Linked DNA regions of Homo sapiens: region 2 is linked to region 1. The links are contacts of gene promoters, found by promoter capture Hi-C in blood cells and fetal thymus (Javierre and others, 2016). All regions are on one chromosome and are shown on one strand. Each heading gives the region's core, a stretch centred on a gene start or on the middle of the fragment in contact. The rest is flanking DNA. Distances are from core to core; before and after follow the strand shown.

What was found. Contacts are between HindIII fragments. The CHiCAGO score rates a contact against its expected background, and 5 or more counts as called.
Region 2: a fragment that was not itself captured here is called in contact with the fragment with the promoter of TCL1A in region 1 in 2 of 17 cell types (naive B cells and total B cells); the score reaches 6.7 in naive B cells.

The regions. Positions count from the first base shown.
Region 1 is chr14:95,712,498-95,717,782 of GRCh38, reverse strand. It overlaps TCL1A (TCL1 family AKT coactivator A), which reads left to right and starts at 3,658. Exons shown (of 4, transcript NM_021966.3): 1 at 3,658-3,836. The coding sequence starts at 3,717. LOC107984703 (a long non-coding RNA gene) reads right to left here and starts at 2,300. Exons shown (of 3, transcript NR_148060.1): 1 at 2,076-2,300; 2 at 215-312. RefSeq lists a silencer at 3,404-3,643 and enhancers at 3,874-3,923, 5,038-5,257. The HindIII fragment of the contact is 7,267 bases long and covers 1,491-5,285 here.
Region 2 is chr14:95,556,656-95,562,133 of GRCh38, reverse strand. No RefSeq gene overlaps it. Among named protein-coding and RNA genes, the nearest start is that of LINC02318, 14 kb to the left of the region's middle. RefSeq lists an enhancer at 3,963-4,462. The HindIII fragment of the contact is 8,364 bases long and covers 1-5,478 here.

The DNA of each region.
Region 1 (5,285 bases), core at 2,409-4,908:
CAACTATGGCCCAGACCTAGGAACTAAAAAAAAAAAAAAAAAAACAAAAAAAAAAACAGGCTGGGCACGGTGGCTCATGCCTGTAATCCCAGCACTTTGGAAGGCCGAGGTGGGAGGATCACCTGAGGTCAGGAGTTCAAGACCAGCCTGACCAACATGAAGAAACCCCATTTCTACTAAAAATACAAAATTAGACAGGCGTGGTGGCGCATACCTGTAATCCCAGCTACTCGGGAGGCAGAAGCAGGAGAATCGCTTGAACCCAGGAGGTGGAGGTCGCAGTGAGCCAAGATCACACCATTGCATTCCAGCCTGGGCAACAAGAGGGAAACTCTGTCTCAAAAAACAAACAAACAAACAAAACACTCCAGGCATGGATGCCTTAATAGCTACATATATATCACAGATTCTGTGTTTTACACATTAGCAAGATCTCAGACCCTTATGATTCCAATAAACTTAGGGCTATGGATCCCTGACCACGAAGGATTGGAAGCAGCAAAGTAGGGCAAAGGGAAAGAAGTAAAATATGGAGTTGGGGTGAAGTTTACAATGAGAATTGATGGTAGAAAGAATAGCTTTGACATTTTCGTAGTTATTTAGATTTATAAATCTGTGCACACGTCAAAAACAGTCACTCAGATCTTAGAGAAATTGTACTTAACCCTGCCTACGTGTTAGCATCACCTACTTTTCTCAAGCCTCAATCTCGGAGATTCTGATGTAATTGGTTTGGAGTGGGATCCAGGCGCAGGTGTTTCATTAAAGCTTCCCAGGTGATTCTTAGTGGTTTAGGCTCAGTCATCATAGGGCCCAAAGGCCTAAACACCTAAGTAGCCTCTAAATAGGCTCTTTCCAGCTTGCTATAATCATTGACAATCAAGGACCCCAGGGTTGGTGAGGATGACCTTGGTTACTAGGATTTTCTTTTAAGAGGAAAACACTCTATATATTAGAGGTGATTTTGGCAGAAAATAAGATAGCCTGGAAGTAAATGATACACAAACACCGATATAAGTCCTGTGTCATAGTTGGAGAAATCTGGAGGGCACTGGTGTGTTGAATCAGACACCCCCTATCTCTCCCTCTTGACCCTCCCTCCATATAGCCCAACATTTACCATGCCCGTGAATCACCTGGGGGTCTTGTTCCAATACAGATTCTGACTCAGTAGTCTTGGGGGAGGCTCCAGATTCTGTCATTCTTACGAGCTCCAGGTGATGCTACTGTAGCTGGTCCAGGGACAACACTTTGAGTCAAGGTCATCCTGATGGCCTTGACTACTCCTCAACCCCTTCTTTGGAACCCAAACAAGAAGAATGGCTCCCATGAATTCCACTGGGGTCCTTGATCTACAGCCACTGTACCAAAAACTGTAGGCATTCCTGAACTAACATCATATATTTTGTCCATCTCTTTTCTTAACTATTCCCTCCTCCCACTAGGCAATGTTATAGGAGGATTGGGGCCTACTGAGTTAGAAACAAGCTTAGAGAGCAGGTATTTTGCCCCATTCATTACAAAACTATGGCACTGAGGCCAAGTTGCAAAGGATTTGTCAAGTTCACAGGTGATCGTGGTAAAGGCAAAACTAGATCTAAATCAGGACATGAACGCATCCATTAAGGATTCTGTCAAAATGATTGCTTCCTGTAGCTTTCTGTGTGAAACATCCATTTGCTTATCCTCAGGGAAATCAGACTAACAAAGACTTGGAAAGGAACATAAAATTCTAAAGCTAGGCTTATGGCCTTTATAACCCTTAGATGGGGCAGATAACATGCCACGGAGGCTCAGAGACAGCTCTGAGACTATGCAATAGCTACTGTTTCCCCTCTTGTGGAATGTTCACTTAAAAAAGCTCAAGGGCTCTATAAGTTGCCCAATGAACTCCACAGACATCCTTAATTCATTTTCATTTATTGGAACCCTCTCTCAAATAATTTTCTAAATCTCACGCAATAATGATGTATATTCTTGCTCAATATTAAGAAGCCCTCATGCAAAACTGAAGAAATAAATTGTTCTTACAAAAGAAGGAAAAAGGAATTATATTCTCAGAACATTCTGCTTACCCAGACACACAGATCTGATTCTTGCTCCATTGTTTGTGGCATTCTGGATCCTAGGGCCATTGATGAGGCTGGGTCAGTGGCCACACTGGCTCCTGGGTACCCCTTCCCTGGCCACAAAAGTCCATCCCAGCAGCACTATTTAAACTGGACTTATTTCTCACTTCACAGCTCTGGCCTGGGCTGAGACCTCCCCAACAGAGCTTATTAGCGAGCTTGTCATCTTGCTCTGTGGCTATCTAGGTCTGGAGTCAAGAGCCATTCACAGGAAAATCAGCATGAAACCTTTAAGTTTGCATATTAAATATTAACACCACTAAGGGCTACAGTGGAAAAGAGGTTTGCTGAGCTCAAGGGCCCTCACTCCACCCCCAACTTCCCTTGGCTTTTCTCTTCTATGTTGTGTTCCTGGTAAATCCCATTATGTCTCGACTACCTTAGGCCCTCTCAGCCCCTTCTTGGGAATTAGGCTCTCTGGATAGGCAAAGAGGCAGATACCCAGCTGCCAGGTGAATCAGATGTCCTCATCAGATCTCTTAATTTCCACTTTGGTGATATTTCAAAGGATCACAAATTATGTTCTTAGTGCCTGGTCAGAGAACTGGGAAAGAGCTGGAAGATGAGACACCAAACTCCATCCCATGGTGATGTTTGAACCAGGCTGGAGCTGGTTTCACATGTTTTTCATTGTGCATGACTTTCTTAATTGCCTTAGTGGGAATGCGTTACTGCAAAATAAAGTGAAATTGTTTTCCTTATTGCTTGTAATTTACAGAGGGGTGGTTTTGATCATATAAACCAGGCACTTTTCAAATCCATTGATCTTAGGGTGGAAGGAGGGATTTCTTTTTAAGTATTCATTTCGAACTATGCTTTCACTAGTAAACTCAAAGCCCAAGGGCAAAAACCCATGATTCTCCATTTTGTAATAGCTATTAGATGTCCACAGCACATCAGACCTGTGGAAAACGCATGCTTTGTGTATGGAAGAGGGAGAGGGAGCGTCAGGAGTTGTCCTTTGCCAAAAAACGTACTCTGACACTCAAAGGCACAGGCTGGTGGAGATCCAGGGAACCCGGGAAAGCCCAGGCCTAACTCAGGCCCGCGCGGGTCTCTTCTGATCCCATAAGATGAGGAGTGGGTCCTGGCTCTGGGCATCCTGGTGTCGACTGTGAGTTCCCAGCAGAGGCCCAGAGTCCCGGTCCGGCAGCCGAGGGAAGCGGGGGGGTCTTCCAGAAGAAGAAAGGGCCAAGGTCACCCCGGTGCCTCTCCAGCAGCAGCAGAGGGCGGCGGTCGGTGTCGCTGCTGGCCGGGGCCTCGAGGAAGGCGCGGGCCAGCTGGGGCCGGGTCTGCGTTCCCAGGAGCTGCCACCGTTCCAGGGAGCAAGTCAGGCCGGGACGTAGCGCCTGCGCGGGACCCTCACTTGCCACCAAGACCCCCACAAACCCCGCCCCATCCTGCCTTACGCCCCGCCCCAAGGTCGTTCTCCCGACCCGGGGTCCCGCCCCAAGGCCGTCCTCCCGCCCCGCCGCTTGGTGGCGGCCGCATGCTGCCCGGATATAAAGGGTCGGCCCCACATCCCAGGGACCAGCGAGCGGCCTTGAGAGGCTCTGGCTCTTGCTTCTTAGGCGGCCCGAGGACGCCATGGCCGAGTGCCCGACACTCGGGGAGGCAGTCACCGACCACCCGGACCGCCTGTGGGCCTGGGAGAAGTTCGTGTATTTGGACGAGAAGCAGCACGCCTGGCTGCCCTTAACCATCGAGGTACAGCCAGCTTTGGAGCGGATGGCGAGGCAGCAGGGGCAGCCCCTGGGAGCTTGGGATGCCCTAGGAAGGGCGAGGACTCAAGGAGCACTCACTATGGGGCAGGGAGGATCCCCACAGATGAAGCCACTTTGAGCCGGGCTCTGGAGGATGAATAGGAGTTCTCCAGGCAGGGAAGAAGGGTGGGAAAACCGCAAAGGAATGTCGGTCAAAGGGGTGGACCCAGTGCCTGTGGAGTGTGACTATAATGTTGACTACAGCAGGCATTTTCTGGGCTTCGGGGTCCTAATCCTTAAAAATGGGTATCTCTAAGTGACTCATCCATATGGCCGATTATCGGAATCATCTCAGGTGGGTCCCAGAAATCTGTATTTTTAAAAAGAACCCTCAACAGTTTAGGGTCAACCAGGCATAGCAAACACTGGCCTAGAGTGTGAAGTATTTTCCACTACCTCTGGGCTTTATTTAGAAAACAAATTTAACAAGTGATGTCGTAGTATAAGCGCCGGTATTGAATCAATATTGACTTTTTTAATGTGTGATGCCTTAAGATGGGTCCTTAATCCATGTTAAGTTTTTGTTAAAGAAATAGATAAGTCTTTTACAAGTATTTGGATTTACTCAATGAAAAAGAGTCAAAAAATGTTCAAACTCTCTCCAAACATACACTGAAGAAAGCATAAAAATTAAAAAATATATTAGAACACGTATGTCCAGTAGCAATCAAAAATTATTGAGTGTTGACTGTGTCTCTACAGATGGGAAACTGAGGCACAAAAATGTACATTTGTCCGAGGTAAGATTGCTAGTAGGTAATGGGGTTGGAATTCTAGGCTCTTAACCACCACAAAATCTGCATTTTTATTGGCATTTCAATTTTTTAAATATGTTTTTACTTTAAAAATCAAGTTAAATACTTACTTTTTTAAAATCAAAATTTGAAGAAATAATTTGAAGATTCAGTGGATTTCTTTTTTTAAATCTCTGAGAAATCTCTTCTTCAACGTGACACCAAAACCACGAACCAGACAGTTTTTCATAAAATCATGATACATGCTCCACAAAAAATAACCCACTAGCAAACTGTGGGACAGATTTTGCCTCACATCATTGAAAAGGCCAGTATTCTTTTTCTCTCTTTCTTTCTTTGTTGTTTTTTTTTTTTCCTGTAGATACAGGGTCTCGCTCTGTGACCCAGGCTGGTCTTAAACTCCTGGCCTCAAGCGATCCTCCTGCCTCTGCCTTCCAAAGCACTGGAATTACAAGTGTGAGCCGCTGCAACCCGCCAGAAAAAAGTGTGCCTTTCATGGCCCTGTCTGGGTGGCTAGACACGTGTGTGTGCTGGTGGTCCTGGCCCAGCCAGAGTCCCTGAGAGGAGCATGCATGGCCTAAGGAAGTGAGCTTCAGGGAACAGTGATGACCATCATTTCACACTCGGACCCCTGCCCA
Region 2 (5,478 bases), core at 2,320-4,819, 160 kb after region 1:
TGGATTGGAAGAAGGAGGCAAATGGGGTTTCCAGGTGTCTGGCTGTGGCAACCAATTTGGCAGCAGCTTTCGACAATGAACTACTTGGAAATTGCAATTTGTGTGCGGCGTGTCACATTTTCCAGCACAATATCATGTGTATTCTTAGAGTCTTCAGTCAGGTGGGAAATGAAGGTGCTATCAAAGGACCCTGACAGACAGCGCAGGGATAGCCTGTCTTGAATATGGCAGAGTCAAACCCACAAGCTCTTGGGGAGTCCTTAAACAATTGAGATTACCTTCTTTGATGACCACCCGCAGCCCAAGGGGAGGATACTTTGAATACCACCTACTCCACATCCCAACTAAGGAAAGGAAAACAAAGTTGGCTACCCCCAACTGTCTGGGATTTTTCAATTTTTGCCTTTTTCCCTCTCTCTTGTGTCTCCTATATAAATCCTACCCATGTAGAAGTCAATCTATCATTTGTTTCCCTCATAGATAAGCAAATTAATTGGCTTATTATATTACCTATGTCTTTTATTTATTCTTTGATAGGAGGCACTATTATTTTCTCCTTTTTACCGATGAGGAAACTGAGGCTCCGAGAGCTTGAGTGGTTTGTCCAAGGTAAATGGGAGCCAGGTTCTGATTCTGGTCTTCAGTGCCCAAATTCCTGCCCCTCTCTCTAGGACAGCTCGAAGCCCTATTCTGGCCTATTAAAGGGAGCATTTCCAGAGAGAAAAAAAAATGGATGTGGACACATTCGACGTTTCTGATATGATTGTGTTGTCTGGAGCCCAAACGCTCTCCCTCGGGCCCTTGAAATGATGGGAAGGATGCAAGGTCAGAAAAAATGTGGAATGTACGGGACTCGGGCTCTACCTGGGGACATAGAGAAATCTCCCTGATTTGTTTTTCACATAGAGAATTTACTTAGGGAAGGTGGAGAGTGCAGAACGCGGCTCCGCGTGGTGGCGAAGCATAAGAAGTGCACCTGCAGGCAGAAGGGAGCCAGATGGAGGCCACCTGCAATAACGGGGCTCATTCCCGGAGAAGCAGCGCCATCTGCTGGTTTCCCATGATATGACTGTGTCAGACCAGAACAAAAGCATTTAGAACAGGCCATCTCAAAGAAATGCTAGCCTGATATTTTACCTTTTGGAGTAAAATTTCAGACTATGCAAGGATTTGATCCACTTAGCATTGAAAACAAAACCAAAAGCAACCTGCTGTGGTCCGAATGTTTGTGTCTGCCCTAAATTCCTATGTTGAAATCCTAACTAACCCCAAGGGTGATGGTACTAGAAGATGGGGCCTATGGGAGGTGATCAGGTCGTAACGGTGCAATCCTCAGCAGAGGGATTAGTGCCCTTATAAAAGGGACCGCAAAGACACCCTAATCCCTGCTACCATGCAAGGACATAGGAAGAAGCCGCTAGCTATGAGGAAGTGGGTCCTCACTAAACACCAAATCAGCCGGGGCCTTGATCTTGGACTTGCCAGCCTCCTGAACTGTGAGAAATATATATATATATTTGAGACAGAGTCTTGCTCTGTTGCCCAGGCTGGAGTGCAGTGGCACAGTCATGGCCCATTGCAACCTCCACCTCCTGGGCTCAAGCAATCCCTTCACCTCAGCCTTCCAAGAAGCTGGGACTACAGGCATGCACCACCACACCCGGATAATTTTTGTATTTTTTGTAGAAACAGGTTTTCGCCATGTTGTCCAGGCTAGTCTTGAACTCCTGGCTTCAAGCAATCTGCCTGCCTCAACCTCCCAAAGTGTTGGGATTACAAGCATGAGCTACCACACCCGGCCAAAATTTCTGTTGTTTTATAGCCACCCAGCTTACAGTATTTTGTTATGGCATCCTAAACAGTCTAAGGAATGAGCTTTTGTTAATTATTCAATAAATAGTGTTAAGCCCTTAGAAAAATAAGACAGACATAGTTTCTGCCCTTTTGGAAGTTGCATTCTGGCAAAAGGTAAACATGCTGTACCATCTCTCACACACACATGTAGTTATATACATACATGCTTGTGTACATACATGCATTTGTATACAAGCTCGTTTTAGGTATTGGTAAATGTCATGAAGAAGGAAGAAGAATAAAAGATGATACTGGGCCAGGCGCGGTGGCTCACACCTGTAATCCCAGCACTTTGGGAGGCTGAGGTGGGCAGATCATGAGGTCAGGAGATCAAGAACATCCTGGCTAACATGGTGAAACCCATCTCTACTAAAAATACAAAAAAAAAAAAAAAATTAGCTGGGCGTGGTGGCAGGCGCCTGTAGTCCCAGCTACTCATGAGGCTGAGGCTGGGGAATGGAGTGAACCCGGGAGGCAGAGCTTGCAGTGAGCCGAGATCATGCCACTGCACTCCAGCCTGGGTGACAGAGTGAGACTCCGTCTCAAAAAAAAACAAAAAAAAGATGATACTGACTGGGGTTCTGGTGGAATAAGCTGGGGTTTGCTCTCCAGCCAGGACAATAGAAAAGACCTCTTTGAATTAAGATCTGAATCATGAGAAGAAGGTAGATGTGTAGGAAAGAAGAATTTCCAAAGAGAAGGAACAAGAGCAGAGGGTGGGTCCAAGCCTGACAGCGTGAGAAAGAAGCCACGGGGGCTGGGGCACAGCCAGTGCATGGCCCAGCTGAGTTCTGTAAGCAAAAGGCCTGCATCAGCAAGATTCACGTTTCCCAAGACTATCTCTTGAAAAGAATAGGTGCTTATTGTTTAATCTTTCCAGATTCTTACATAACTGGGCACTCTTTCAATTACTTTAGTTTAAATAACTACAGTCTTTCTGGGGAAGCCACATTAGCCTGAAATGACCTCAAGGTGAGCTGTTTGGCCAAACACGTTTAAACCAGATACAGCTAGTAATCCCAGCTGGAATGTTGAACGACATTGTAAATAAGCCTTTTAAAAAATATAGAATTTCGGCAGGGCGCGGTGGCTCATGCCTATAATCCCAGCACTTCGGGAGGCCCAGGCGGGCAGATCACGAGGTCAGAAGTTCGAGACCAGCCTGACCAACATGGTGAAACCCTGTCTCTACTAAAAATACAAAAATTAGCCGGGTGTGGTGGTGCATGCCTGTAATCCCAGCTACTCAGGAGGCTGAGGCAAAAGAATCACTGGAACCCAGGAGGTGGAGGTTGCAGTGAGCTGAGATAGCACCATTGCACTCTAGCCTGGGTGACAGAGCGAGACTCCGTCTCAAAAAAAAAAAAATATATATATATATATACACACACACACACGTATATATTTTTATATACACATATGTATATATTTTTATATTTATATATACATATATATTTTTATATTTATATATAATTTCAACTTTTATTTTAGATTGGGAGGGTACATGTGCAGGTTTGTTACACGGATATATTGAATGACACTGAGGTTTGAGGTAGGAATGATTCCATCACTGAGCATAGTACCTAATAGGTAGTTTTTCAGCCCTTTCCCGACTCCCTCTCCCCGCTTCTAGTAGTCTCCAGTGTCTACTGTTTCCTTGTTTACATCCATATGTACCCAATGTTTAGTTTCCATTTGTGAGGACATGTGGTATATGGTTTTCTGTTTCTGCATTAATTCACTTGGTATAATGGCCTCCAGCTGCATCCAGGTTGCTGCAAAGGACATTATCTCATTCTTTTTTATGACTGCATAGTAGTCCATGGTGTATATATACCACATTTTCTTTATCCAATCCACCTTTGATGGGCACCTAGGTTGATTCCATATCTCTGCTATCGTGAATAGTGCTGTGATGAACATACAAGTGCATGTGTCTTTTTGGTGCAATGATTTATTTTCCTTTGGATATATGCCCAGTAATGGGATTGCTAGGTGGAATGGTAGTTCTGTTTTAAATGCTCTGAGAAATCTCCAAACTGTTTTCCACAGTGGCTGAACTAATTTGCATTCCCACCAAACAATGTAAACTAATTTACATCCCCACCAATAAGGGTTTCCTTTTCTCTGCAGCCTGGCCAGTATCTGTTGTTTTTTGACTTTTTAATAATAGCCATTCTGGCTGGTGTGAGATGATACCTCATTGTGGTTTTGGTTTGCATTTCTCTGATGATTAGTGATGTTGAGCATTCTTTCATACGGTAAACAAGCCTTTTAAAGATCACTTTAAAAAGCAAATCGATGGGTAGTTACATCATAGAGACCATGGTTAAACACCTACAGAAAAAAAAATTCAGTGTCCTAATGTGCTTAAGATAAAATGCTCATGGAAGTGGTCATACATGGATTCAAAACTGCTCCAGCTCAGAAAACTTAAATAAAAGTAAAGGTAGTCTGAGTGTAGTGGTTCCTGCCTGTAATCTCAGCACTTTGGGAGGCCAAGGCGGGTGGGTCGCTGGAGCTCGGGAGCAGCCTGGGCAGCCGAGACTAGCCTGGGCAGCATGACAATACCCTGTCTCTACCAAAAATACCAAAAAATTACCCGGGCGTGGTTGTGTGCACCTGTAATCCCAGCTACTCAGGAGGCTGAGGCGGGAGGATCGCTTGAGCCTAGAAGGCGGAAGTTGCAGTGAGCAGAGATCACACCACTGCACCCCAGCCTGGGCAACACAGCAAGACCCTGTCTCAAAAAAGTCAAGGAAAGGCACTCTTGACGTTGATTCTCATGCTGTGGTGTGTGGACCAGCAGCAGTAGCGGAGACACCTGGGAGCTTGTTAGACATGCGCGGTAGGAATCTGCATTTGAATTAGATCCCTAGGTGAGTCACATGCACAATCACGTTTGAGAAGTTTGAGAAGCGCTGCTCTTGGAAACTTGTGGCAGAGCTCAAAAAGTGCTCCAGTCATGAGAGACACTGATGCTGAAAATTCCAGCAGAGCATTTTAGTAGTTGTTTCACAAGCTGAGAAGAAAAGCAACATTTGTAAATAAATGTATTACTTGATGATATATTAAATGTAGCTAAATTAATAGATTGTGGGCTCCAGCGCCAATTGCCTGGCCTTATATTTTCTAGTTCTTCCGCTTTTTCAGCTGTGTGTCCCTGGTCAAGTTACACATCTTCTCTGTTCCTCAATGCTCTCATTGGTAAAATGTTAAGCGTGTGTTAAAACACATTTAACATAGTTGGTGTACCATATATTTAATATAGTTGACTATGTCATCCACATCCATAAAGGTTTTTATATTTAAACTATCAAAACGTTTTCAAAAGTCCTCCCATTGGGAAAAAATGGGAAGCAGTGTTTTCCCTTATACTTAGAAACACAAAAAGCGGTTCCATGAGAGTTGGAGTTCAACTAGCTAGTATAAGTTCATTTCAGCTCTTAGTTCTCAGCTGGGTTCAGCCCAAGCTCCTGCTTTAAATCAGTATCTCTAGTGGCCAACTCTGCTACCATTAGTCAACACTGGGTAAAGTCTTCAAATGTAAATATTAAATAAATAGGCCCAGTGCGCTGGCTCATGCCTGTAATCCTGACACTTTGGGAGGCCGAGATGGGCGGA